Regions from separate parts of the Homo sapiens genome. Here region 2 is linked to region 1. The links are contacts of gene promoters, found by promoter capture Hi-C in blood cells and fetal thymus (Javierre and others, 2016). All regions are on one chromosome and are shown on one strand. The core of a region is centred on a gene start or on the middle of the fragment in contact, and the rest is flanking DNA. Distances in the headings are between cores, read along the strand shown. Region 1 holds the start of RPS27L (ribosomal protein S27 like). Region 2 overlaps LINC02568 (long intergenic non-protein coding RNA 2568).

The links. The method cuts DNA at HindIII sites, captures the fragments that hold promoters and counts their contacts. A CHiCAGO score of 5 or more calls a contact.
Region 2: a fragment that was not itself captured here is called in contact with the fragment with the promoter of RPS27L in region 1 in 1 of 17 cell types (endothelial precursors); the score reaches 5.1 in endothelial precursors.

Annotation. Positions count from the first base shown.
Region 1 is chr15:63,154,966-63,161,656 of GRCh38, forward strand. It overlaps RPS27L (ribosomal protein S27 like), which reads right to left and starts at 2,512. Exons shown (of 4, transcript NM_015920.4): 1 at 2,435-2,512; 2 at 1,448-1,556; 3 at 656-766. The coding sequence starts at 2,440. RefSeq lists enhancers at 1,252-2,451, 1,736-1,825, 1,976-2,635, 2,031-2,604 and a silencer at 2,786-2,885. The HindIII fragment of the contact is 11,776 bases long and covers 1-5,436 here.
Region 2 is chr15:63,394,584-63,401,274 of GRCh38, forward strand. LINC02568 (long intergenic non-protein coding RNA 2568) reads left to right here. Exons shown (of 7, transcript NR_120375.1): 2 at 268-328; 3 at 1,018-1,098; 4 at 3,804-3,884. Among named protein-coding and RNA genes, the nearest start is that of LINC02568, 7.7 kb to the left of the region's middle. The HindIII fragment of the contact is 2,138 bases long and covers 1,984-4,121 here.

The sequences.
Region 1 (6,691 bases), core at 1,262-3,761:
AAATTTTAAAATTCTATATGGTTTTAAAAATCTGTATGTCCTGGCCGGCGAGGTGGCTCATGCCTGTAATCCCAGCACTTTGGGAGGCCGAGGCGGGCAGACCATGAGGTCAGGAGATCAAGACCATCCTGGCTAACACAGTGAAACCCCACCTCTACTAAAAATACAAAAAATTAGCCAGGCATGGTGGCACGCGCCTGTGGTCCCAGCTACTTGGGAGGCAGAGGCAAGAGAATCACTTGAACCGGGGAGGCAGAAGTTGCAGTGAGCTGAGATGGCGCCACTGCACTCCAGCCTGGGTGACAGAGCGAGACTCCTAATAAAAAAAAAAAATAATAAATAAATAAATAAATAAATCTGCATGTCCTATAACATGTAGTTATTCTTTTGCTTCTATTCTGACTTAATTTATTCCAAGTTAAGCAAACTAAGTGAATAAATGTGTTCTAAACTAAGAAAAATAAGTCAATGGAGTTCACTGCAAGGTCAAGAGTATAAATATATCCATTTGAACAGGCCATTCTTTACTGAAAGCACACAATGAAAGATAAGTTATTTTGGTAATCATTAAGATTTCTTTAAACTTTTCAGTGAAGATAGAGACATTTATAATCATCAATCTCATCACTGGGTTGGAGAATGCCAAATGATATACCTTCTGTGAGTCTGGCCTTTCCTCCTGTAGGCTGGCACAACACTGTTGAACAACCTACACAAAGAACCACTGTCTGAGCATGGCTGAAAACCGTGGTGATCTTGTAGCAACCTAAAAAAAAAAAAAGGCAATGTTAAAAATGAAAAGCAGAGGAAAACAGCACCTGTTCGACATTTCTGGTAATATGTAAAAAAATCAGTAACTTCAGTGCTATGAAACAGCAAGCCACATGTGTAACATAAACTTTTCTAGCAGCGACACAAAATTTTTTAAAAACAGGTAAAATCAATAATATATTTCATTAAACTTAATATTTCCAAAATATCATTTCAACATGTAATCAATGTATTTTTTTTCTGTGCTACATCGTCAAAATCCAGTGAGTATTTTACAATTAAAGAACATCTCTATTTTGAGTATCCACATTTTGATTATCCACAAGTGCTCAGTAGCCACATTCAGCTAATGGCCATTGTATTGGGCAGCACAGCTTTAGACTGAAGAATCAACAGACTTTTCTTTGTATCATGAAACAGAAAACTCATCGTCTGAAGAGCTTAAAGACTTGCTAAGTCAAATGGCATATCTCCTTTGAATGCCTGTTTTCACTTACCCCGAAATGTTTCTACAATGGTTTCAGTACATTTATTATGAAAATGTCCCTGACATTTCCAATTCTGTAATCCCACTTCTACTCAACAGAGGGTTCTAATGTATCTTAACTATACACACCACACTAGCAATCCCTACAGAAATTTTCTTTAGTAAAGGAATTAAGATTTCAAATTTTACCTGGACATTTTACATCCATAAAGTAAGAATTTGGACTTTGTACTAGGCGTTTCTTTTTATGTTTTTTCTTTTCCTCTTCCAAGGACGGATGTAGTAAATCTCTAGCCAACTGAACAAAGAAGCATATTATTACTATTAGTTTTAAACCACAACGCTGGCACATTTAACCATACGTGAAATATACATGCAAAAACAGGAATAACGGTCATCCTCGGCAGAAGCAACACGTCAGATAGTAAAGTTATTTTTCGAAACCTGTTAATAACTTTCATCAGTACTTTTCATAATACTTGTGTTCTCCAAGTCCCTAGAAAAGGGCTTTCGCACGATCAGGAAACATATGGTAAGGCAAACTTTGTCCTTCTTTACTCAACTGCGTAATGAACTGTCTTCGATGAAAACTGCGCGAAGTCGAGGTGCTAAGCAAAGAAAGTGACCCCGACTGTGGACTCGCTTAGAGTAGAAACTGCTGAAGTAGACCAGACAACGTCAGCGCCTGGGTGATTTTTGCTCCTGTGGCTCAACAGCTGATCTGACAGGAATTCTTGCTGAGCGACCGTCCTTGACGGAATTAATATATAAGGCAACAACGAGGACAGTTTTTAAAAAAGGAAAACAAGTAGGAAATCGCTTCCGAAAGAAGGCAGAGGGGGCGAGAAACACCAATCACTGGGAAAGCCAAAAGACCCAAAGATCACAACCTCAGGGGCATCCTCAAAGACCAAGACCGCTCATAAGCTACACAGAGAACTGTTCCCCTCCCAGCCACCGCCTCTGAATTGCAGCCCACGCCCCTGCAGGGCCAGCCGCGCCGCGGTGACCGGGCAAGTCACTACATGCCCGCCACGCGCGAAGACGCTGCGCAACCTGAGCCGCCTCGCCACTCTCGGACACTACAGGCCCGAGAGGCAGCCGGACTCATCCGTCCCATATGACTCTCGGTAAAGAAGCCCAAAACAAACCCGGAGCCCGATGTAAACAACTCACAGGCATGTTGATCCTCTTGCAAGCTCAGCCCTACCAGACCTCCCAGCCCACACAGCTAGCAAGCTGCAAGCGATCTGCGCTCGGCATCAACTTCCGGGATAGAAGCTGCTGGGAGGAGCGGCGGGGCGGGCTTGTCTGCTCTAGGCCCTCCTCTCGGTGGTAGGGGGACGCCGCAGCAGGGTACTCGGGTCCAGGGCGCAGGGAAGACCCGGGGATGGTGAGCGTTCCAGGGTGCCAAGTCCCGTGGGTCTAACGGGCTTGTTGGCGAGCGCCGCGGGCTCTGCAGTGCCTGAGGCCAGAATCTGGCTGGGGAGCGGCCTCGGGCTTAGGCCATGGCGAGGGAGCGCCCGCGGCCACCGGGGCCGGCGCCACCCCGGAACCCGGCGGGCCGCTCAGCCCCCGGCCCCCTGGCCCGGCCGCTCTCGGTTAGCTCTGGGGGTGGGCACACGGGGCAATGCCACTATTCTCTTCTTTTGTGTATTAAAAAATACAGTATTATTAACCATTAATACGTGCCAGAGAGATTATGAAAGAGGCTCGTATCCTTTTGGCTTCCCTTTTCAAGGCGCAGATTTCGAAGTTTTCTGCGGGGTATGGCTGTGCCTTAGGTTTGCTTTGTTCTGAAAAAAAGTTTTTAAAACAGCACGGATTCGCTGCTGTGCCTCATTCACTAAGAGGCCCCACCCCTTCCGAGGATTACTCGTCCTTTGCAGAGTGGACAACTAGGGGGCCTGAGAAAGGCGAATGTCACCGATGACCGAACATGAGTCTTTATCATTATTATTATTTGAGACAAGGTCTCGCTTTTTTGCCCAGGCTGGAATGCAATGGTGCCATCACAGCTCACTGCAGCCTCGACCTCCTGGGCTCAAGCGATTCTCCCGCCTCAGCCTCCCGAGTAGCTGGGACCACAGGAACACGCCATTATTCTTTTTTTTTTTTTTTTTTTCCTTGGAGACAGGGTCCTGCTATATTGCCCAGGCTTGTCTCCAATTCCTAGGCTCAAGAAGTCCTTCCACCTCAGCCTCCCAAGTAGTTGGGACTACCGGCGCGTGACAGCATGCTCTATTTTTGAGGAGGAAACTCTATGCTTGAAAAATGGGTGTCATGGGCGACCAAAAGGCAAGAAACCAGAAAGACACTTTACCAGAAAATTGGTCTAACTGGATTTTTTTTTTTTTTTTTTTTTTTTTTGGCAGAGTCTTGCTCTGTCACCCAGGCTGGAGTACAGTGGCGCGATCTTGGCTCACTGCAACCTCCGCCTCCTGGGTTCACGCGATTCTCCTGCCTCAATCCTCCCAAGTACCTGAGATTACAGGTGTCCATCACCATGTCCGGCTACTTTTTGTGTTTTTAGTAGAGACGGGGGATGGTGGGGGGGGGGTTCACTATGTTGGCCAAGCTGGTCTCGAACTCCTGACCTCAAGTGATCTGCCCGCCTTGGCCTCCCAAAGTGTTGGGATTACAGGCGTGAGCCACCGCGTCCCGCCCTGACTTGATGTTCTTAATCACCTTATTTGTCTTTGCAAAAAGGATACATGTATAATATACATTTTGGGAAATGCAGAAAAATAGAAGAAAATTTACCATCTGTAAATAAACATTTTTAACTTTTGACCTATATCCTTCCCAATATTTTTTACTCTCTTGGATATAGGTTTATTTTGGGTTTTGACTTAACCTAATTGGGATCATCTTGTGCATAATCTTTTGTAGACTTGAATTTTCCTCCCACTTACTATAAAATGAGCATCACTCCATGTCACTACATATTCTTTTTTTTTTTTAAATAAGGTCTCACTGTGTTGCCCAGGCTGGAGTGCAGTGGCACAATCTTGGCTCACTGCAGCCTCGACCTCCTGGGCTCAAGCAATTGTCCCCCCTCAGCCTCCTGAGTAGTTGGGACTGCAGGTACAAGCCACCACGCCTGGCTAATTTTTGTAATGTTTGTAGAGATGGGGTTTCGCCATGTTGCCCAGGCTGGAATATTCTACATTATGCTTCTTAATGGGCATATAGCATTTGTCCTGTGACTATATATATTTTCACTTCAGCCATACACTAAATTGGGCATTAGGTTTGGGTTTTTAAATATTTGATACTTAAAAATTAATAAAAATTGGTGAATATTAAATATTTAATGTATATAAGTATATAGAATAATACAATTGTATACACAGAATAGTGGCCCCCAAAGACATCAGTGGCCTAATCCTCAGAACCTTTAGTTACATGGCAAGTGGAATAAAGGTTGCTGATTAGCTGATTTAATCTAGAAGGAGTATCCTGGATTATCTGTGTAGGCCCAGTGGAATCACAAGGGTTCTTGAAAGTGGAAGAGGAAGACAGAAGAGCGAGAAGGAGATGTGGTAATGGAAGGTCTGAGAGGTGCTATGTTGATGGCTTGTAGATGGAAGAGGGCCATGAGCCAAGGAATGTGGGCAGCGTCTAGAAGCTGGAAAAGGCAAGGAAATGGACTCCCTCCTGGATCTCCCAAAGAGGGACACAGCCCTGCCAACATCTCAACTTTAGCCCAATAAGACCTGGCTCAGACTTCTGTCCAGAACTGTAAGATAATAAATTTGTCTTGTTGCCTGTAATTTCAGCACTTTGGGAGGCCAAGGTGGGCAGATCATCTGGGGTCAGGAGTTCGAGATCAGCCTGGCCAACATGGTGAAACTGCGTCTCTACTAAAAATACAAAAATTAGCCGGGCGTGGTGGCACACACCTGTAGACACCAGCTACTTGGGAGGCTGAGGCAGGGGAATTGCTTGAACCTGGGAGGCAGAGGTTGCAGTGAGCGGAGATGGCGCCAATGCACTCCAGCCTGGGCAACAGAGCGAGACTCTGTCTCAATAAATAAATAAATAAATAAATAAATAAATAAATAAATACATTTATGTTGTTTTAAGCCATTACATTTATGGTAATTGATTACAGCAACAATAGAAAATTAATGCAATAAATGAAGATCCATGTACCCACTACCTAGCTCTGTCAAAGCTTAACATTCAGTACTCCCTCCCAGCAACTTTTCATTATTAACGCTACAATAAACATTTTTATAGATACGTTTTTGTGTTTGTCCTCATTCCCTTAGGATAAATTCCTGGAGGAGGAATTGCTGAGTCAAAAGTTATGCACATTTTAAGGTTTGTAATATAAACTGCCAAATTACCCTCCAGAAAAGCGAAACCAATTTATTTTCCAGATATAAATGTATGTGAATGTCCCTTTCTTTGCACCCTTGATAATACTGGATATTTTGTTTTTCCCTATCTCAATCCAGAAGAACTATTGTTTTGAACTAATACTTTGTCATATTTCATTGTTGTTGTAATTAATATTTTCCATATGCTTATTGGCCATTAGCATTTTTCTACTTTTGTTTTCTTGTGTTTTTGAAACAGGGTCTTGCTCTATTGCCCAGGCTGGAGTGCAGCATCAAACTCCCAGCCTCAAGCAATCCTCCTGCCTCTGCCTCTCAGAATGCTGGGATTACACTGTGACACACTGTGCCCTGCCTAATTTTATTTTTTGATAATTTGTTTTAATCATGCAGAAGTTTTTAATGTTATATATTCACACACACACATACATATTTCAAATTTATTGCTTTTTTCCCTTTTGCTATTGTGTTTAGAGAGGACTTGGTCACTGTAGGATTAACTGAATATTTGCCGTTGCTTTCTTCTAATTCTCTTGTGATATTTATTCTTTAACTTTTTAATTAAGTTGGAATTTATTTTGGCACTTCATGTATCATAGGTCTCAGAACAATTTCTGATTATTAGGCCTAGTTATGGCTTCAGTTCTTGTTAACTAATGCCCGGTGTAGTGTCAAAATCCTCCAGCCTCTCAGACACTCACAGGCAGCCTGAGAAATAAAATTTTCCAGGTCAAGAAGACCTGGACTCTAATTACAACTCTGCCTCCTCCTCCAAAGCTCAGTTTCTCCTAAAATGTTTTCAGGCCCCTGCACTGATGGCAGATGGAGGGCCCTGGAGTCCCTTTACACTTGGCACCCTGCTCTCAGGGATCCTGCAGAAGGAGCTCCCACCTGGCTTTCCAAAGAACTGTAGAGCACCAGTCAAAATCCTATTTACTGCCCTGAGAACTTTCCATCCATTCTAGCTGGCCAGGTCTAAGTAGGTGCCACTGAAACCTTCCATTTGGCACTGGCTCCCTTCACCTCAGAAGGGTGTGGGGGCCATCTCTACTCCCATCTCCCTTTACCAAATTCTTTTTTTTTTTAG
Region 2 (6,691 bases), core at 1,803-4,302, 240 kb after region 1:
TAGAGTGGAATCCATACATATTACGGCTAAGGAATCAGAAGCTCTGTGACCTGGGGCAAGTACTTAACTTCACTAAGATCAGTTTTCTAATCAATAAAAAGAGAGATTATAGCAATACCTATTTTATAGGGTTGTGAATGAGCTAATGAGTGTCAACATCTTAAGCACACTACCTAACCTGTAATAAGCACTCAGACTTGGTATTGTTATGAAAATAACAATTATTCTAGCCACACAATGAATGTCACTCCTCTTCCTCCTAAATAGGAATGCCTTCTCAGAATCTTGATTTTCAAAGTGATGGATTGGGAGATCCCAAGCCATGAATGTGAGTTTGTGTATTTCCCTTCTTATTTATTTCTCAGTTCAGTTAAAGCCACCATCATCCTCCTAGTTGCCCAGATTAGGACCTTTGGGATCAACCTGAACTCCACCCTACATTCACCATATCAGCGTTTCCATCTTAAGGGGGCTTCTGGGATCCATCCCCAAACGGAATGCAAGAACCTAATGGTGCCTAGCACATGATAGGTCCTTAGTCAGCATTGATTATTTGTATTTCCGCTGCCTCTGCTCTACTTCCAACCACTGTCATCTCCCACCTCCACTGCCCCATCCCCTCTTCCCTGGTCTCTCCCACCCTAGCCTCTCAGTCATTGTCCATCCTGCCAGAGTGACACACTTTCTGTTTTTCCCACCTTCTCATCCTCTCCCCTCTCTTCTCTCCCTCTCTCTGTTTCTGACTGCAACTGTAGTGAGTGGAGTATGGGGCTCACTCATTATCCATCGTGTAAGGAGTTGCTCTTGTTTTATTTATTTGATTTCCCCCCCACCTTCATTTCTGATACCCATTCTCCTTCTTCCCACACGCTGTCACTCTGATATTGTGATAATGTATTCTTGGGTATGTATGTGAACTTACAAAATGTTAGAAATGTTTGTTCCCTGGTGCCACAAAGAAATAGCACTCGAACATACATTTAATTCTCTCAGCAAAGCAATTTTTACTTTCTGCAGAAAGGGTGCTCATCACAGATGGAACAATGGCGAGAGCACACCTGGACAGGGGAGGGGCAGGAGTTCTGATTCCTGACACAGGTAGGCCCTGCTGCTGTGTTGTTCCCCTGTTGGCTAGGGTTGGACCGCACAGTCTAAGCTAATTTTGATTGGCTATTTTAAAGGGGCAGGGGTATGAGTCAGAGTGGCGGAGTGAGTAGTTTGGCAGGAAGGACAGTTAGGAACAGGTAACCAAAGGTGACTTAGGTCAGAGAAGGTGACCAAGGGTGACTCAGGTCAAAGAAGATGACCACAATGAGTCAAGATGGAGCAGGTGACCAGGGGAACAGATGTGAACTACTGATTAGGACTACGGGGAAAGTTGTTTACTTAAACTAGAAGCAAGTGGGCAAAGAGAACCAGGAAGTTAAACTTTAAAATGGAGAATCAAAGAATAAGAGAGCTGAAACTACTGACGTGCTGATTCTTTGAAGAGAAATTTGCAGTTCACTATATTTAACAAAAATATGTTATTTTGTGTGGTTTGGTTTTTAAACCTACCTACCGCATTTACTTATCCATTCCCCTAGCAAATGCCCCAGCTCCCTGCTACCAGTACTACAGTGAGGTGAGTGTTTTTGTCCGTGATCCTTTAGGACCTGTGTAAGAGTTTCTCGGAAGCATATGTCTAGGAGTGGAATTGCTGATGCATATTTATTTTCACAAAGTACGTCTAGGTTGTGACTGCGAACTGCAGAACTCTCTGCCCGTAATGACTCTGTCCAAACCCCTGCACTAAGAGACTTGACCAAACCCTAGCATGGCTTCTAGCAGCTTAAGACCATGTCCCTAGGATGATACCAGCCTCCCTTAAAATGCTTGCCTGGAAGCTCAATGCTGCCAGGAGAATTTACTGTTTATTCTGGCCAAAACCTGGTGATAGGCAGATAAGCCCCTGAGCTCCCTCTTAGAGCAGTTATTTTAGAAAGCTTGCAATTATAAATCTTTCCTTTGCCCTTTGAGATGTAAATCTCCCACCCAAAACGGTCTCCTCAAGGATCTGAGAGCCCTCTCTTTGAAATGCAGATATTCAGGGAGCTATAGCTCTTCTCCCAGGAGGATAAGGGCCTAACTGCTATGGATGCCTTACTTTAGGAGAAGTGTGTTTATCCTTCGGATAAGCACCAGTGAACAAATCCAGGTGGCGCAATCACATAGACTAACCCTCCCTTAACACCCCACAGTGCCTTTCCCTTAATCTTTAAATAGTCTCCAGTACTTTGCATCAGGTACTCTGTTCACACTCTACTCTTTTTCCTTATTGCAGTAGTCCCTGAATAAAACCTGTCCTGGCTGCTTTAACCGGTGCCTGGCTCTATCTTTGACATGCCCTAGAATACAGTGTTTGTTTCCTTTCCGTTTTGTTTCCTTACAACCTGCCAGAGTTTGGTATTATCCAGTCTCCTAATTTTCCAACCTCATGGGTAAAAAGACTTAGTCTTGCTATTGTTTTAATTTTCATTTATCTAAGAACTAGTGAGGTTCACTTTGGGAGGCTGAGGCGGGTGGATCATGAGGTCAGGAGATCAAGACCATCCTGGCCAACATGGTGAAACCCTGTCTCTACTAAAAATACAAAAATTAGTTGGGCGTGGTGGCGGGCATCTGTAGTCCCAGCTACTCGGGAGGCTGAGGCAGGAGAATCACTTTAACCCAGGAGGCGGAGGTTGCAGTGAGCCGAGATCGTGCCACTGCACTCCAGCCTGGGCAACAGAGTGAGACTCTGTCTCAAAACAAAACAAAACAAAACAAAAAAACTAGTGAGGTTGAGCAAAACCAGTGGGTTTTTTGGGGTGAGTCACATATTCATATCCTTGCCCATTTTCCTGTTGTATTCTCTTTTTCTGATTGATTTGTAGGACTTTCTTATATATTCTGTATAATAATCTCTTGCTGGTCTTGGGAGTCTCAAATATTTTTTTCTCAGTCTATCACCTGTCTGTTCATTTAGATAACTATATCTGCCATCGTCATTATTGTTAATTTTGATATAGTCATCAATTTGAGGGGCAGGGAATACAGTTACACTTTTTGAATGTTTTTTAAAAAAATTCTTCCCCACTTCTAAGGTCATAAATATATTCTGACGTATATATATGCATACACATGCATATCTATGTTTTGTAGGGTGGTGTTTCACATTTATATCTTTAATTCTTCTGAAGTTCACCTTTGCTTATGGTGTTAGGAATGCAGCTTAATTTTTTTCCATGTAGTGAGCCAATCTTCCCTACACTGTCTACTAAGCAACCCATCCTTTCCCCATTTACTTGTTTTTCATACATCAGGTGCACATACAACAAAACACATAAGCATACCTATGAATTTCTGACACTTTCTCACCCTTACTCTATTTCCATGCTTCTACACCACAGTGCCGTAATGTTTTATTATATAGCATTGGAGTATACTGGGGCAAGTCATTCCTCTTTGTTCTTTTTCTGAAATTGGCTCAACTGATGGTGGACCTTGTTTTTTTCTTCTATATAAATTTTGAATATGCTTTTTTTATTCCCTCAAAAAATTCTGTTGGGACTATACTGAAAGTGCCTTGAATTTTTAGACTAATTTTGGGAGAATTGTTATCTTTACATGTTAAGTAGTCTTGTCTACCAATGTGGCATATCTCTTTCCTTAAGTCTAATGTCCTTTGATAGTTTTATATTTTTCTCCAAAAATTTATTTTGAATATTAAGTTGATTTTTTAGTTGTGTTGCTCTTCTGAAAATTATCTTATTTTCTATTAGGTTTCCTGGTTGAATGTTCTGTTGTAGAAGAATGCAACTGAGTTTTCTAAACAGATCTTCTTCTTGACATCCTTGCTGAACGTAAGTATTAGTTCTAAAAGTTTTTCTATTAAGTCTGTGAGGTTTTCTATGTAGATAATCAGATCACCTGTACATAACGACAGTTTTGCTACTTCCTTTCAAATCCTATACCTAGTACTTCTTGTCTTATCACATTGGCCAGGACCTCCAATACTATGCTGAGGAGTGGCAGTTCTTAGAAGGAATGTGGGTGTATCTTTACCTGTTATCTCCTTCCTTTCCCCTGATGTACCCACAAGCTTCATCTCCTGCTGGTGCAGGACTAGTGATACTGTTCTGTCTTGCAGTGGAGTTGGGGAAGACTATAATCTGCCCATGGAAATACAAGGGAGGAAAATAGTCTAAGATAAAATCTTCCCCACCTACAGCACTGTCCCTTTTCCCCTGCAGTCTGCAGTCGCAAACACATACACTGGGCTCCAACCATTTGCTGTCCCTCTAGAAACTTCTCACAATTATCACATTAGATTCTCAGATCCATCAGTTGCACCATTTCTGAGACACTCCCAGAACTAGGTTGACAGAGATAGCCAGGAGCCCCTGTTGGGTCCCCATTGTGTCAGTATCCAGAAGCCAGAATGACACTTCTAAAATAGTTATAATCATGAGAATGTTTTAATCAAGGGCCTTTAAAGCCCTCATGTAAGCCCTTTAATATCACATTCAAAGGTCTTAACAAGCTGGCCTCACTTCCTTTTCTACTTCCCATAACACACCCTACACTCCAACTACCCTGGGTGATGTTTTCCCCAAAAAATGCTGTGCACTTTAACCCTCTGTTTACCATACGTTTACCTCTGTATGGAATTCTCTCTCCCCTTTCTCACATTGAGAAATGCTACTCATTCTTCAAAGCTCGGAACAAAAGTTGTCTTCAAGAAGTTTTCTCTAGTTCATGCCATTGGTGTAAATCATTCCTTCTTCAATACTCCCTGGAGCACTTATCTGTCAGATTTGCCTTATAGTTTGTTGCCAGCAGAGCAAAAACTGTGTTTTATCCATATTTCTATCTCTAGTTCAGTTTTTCACGCACAGTAGATGCCCAATAAATGTTTATTCATCAGGTTAAATAATGAAGACCACGATTTGTAGGAAAGATAAGTTTTTAGTAAGAATGAAGTAATCCTTTTCTTGGCTAATCTCAGTTCCAGTAAGATTGAGTGTGAATTTCCAGAAGTGGTGTTATCTTCAGCAATTCTCAGCACCATGCAAATAGGAATGAAAACATATACTGTAGGCCGGGTGGGGTGGCTCATGCCTGTAATCCCAGCACTTTGGGAGGCCAAGATGGGTGGATCACTTGAGGTCAGGAGTTTGAGACCAACCTGGCCAACATGGTGAAACCCCATCTCTACTAAAAATATAAAAACTAGCCGGGCATGGTAGCGGGCACCTGTAGTATCAGCTACTCAGGAGGCTGAGGCAGGAGAATTGCTTGAACCCAGCAGGCGGAGGCTGCAGTGAGCCGAGATTGCACCATTGCACTCCAGCCTGGGCAACACAGCAAGACGCCATCTCATTAAAAAAAAAAAAAAAAAAAAAAAAGAAAACATGTACTATAAACTCCTAGTCATTTTCTTTATGTGATTAAGTCCTCCGAGTGCTATAACAGGTGTTCAACTTGTACAATGCTGAGCAATTATTTAAAACAAAATGTAGGCCGGGCGCAGTGGCTCATGCCTGTAATCCCAACACTTTGGGAGGCTGAGGCGGGCGGATCATCTGAGGTCAGGGGTTCAAGACCAGCCTGGCCAACATGGTGAAATTCCATCTCTATTAAAAATACAAAAATTAGCCGGCCATGGTGGTGGGCGCCTGTAATCCCAGCTACTCGGGAGGCTGAGGCAGGAGAATCACTTGAACCCGAGAGATGGAGGTTGCAGTGAGCGGAGATCGTGCCACTGCACTCCAGCCTGGGTGACAGAACAAGTCTCCTTCTCCAAACAAATAAACAAAAAACCAAAATGTATCTGCCAAGTCTAACATATAAGGGCAATTGTGAAAGTTATCCTGTGGTTAGACATTCCTGGGTCTCTATTCTCGAAGAATCCTGCTAGTTACATCCTTAGTGGGTATCCTTACACACAACCCATAAAATGTACCAATTTGCTGGTGAAAATTATGAAAACAAACAAAATTTTCTTTTGAAATTGTTACCTTTATTTTTGATAGGAATTTTCACTAAGTGGGATTCCTAATTGCCCCATAGATAGATTAGCCGTGCTGTGGACGAGACGTGAAAAAGGTAGATGAGTAAACTGAAGTAAGATGAATAATAGTTATGTTGTCCCTTTTCTTTGAATGATATACAGTAGTTTCTTCCATGTGTTTATTTTTTTTCTTTCCTGGCAAGTAGGTCAAGAAAGTGTTATTAATATTATCATCTTGGTAAACACTGAGATAAGGAGAAATTAAATTAATTTTTTCAGTAGATTGTTACAACACTGGTCCTTAATTTGTTCATACCTCTCTCTACAACATCCTTGGATAATACCTTTCGCACTGACTCAAGGCTTAGCCATGTATCTTTCTTTGGCCAATGGGACAAGAGCAAATGTGACACAAGAAGAAATATTCAAGCACTTGCACACTGAAGCTTGCTTTCTCTTGCTGCTCTTTTATACCCTGAGACCACCATGCTGAGAACATTATGTGAAGCCTGGGCTAGCCTAGTGGAGGAGGAGAGATCACATGGAGCAGAGACAAACCATCCCAGCTAAGTCCTCCTCAACTAACCAGCCTGTCAATTTCATGTATGTGAGGGAGGCCAGCCAACCCCAGTTGAGCCACCTACACACCTCCGATCT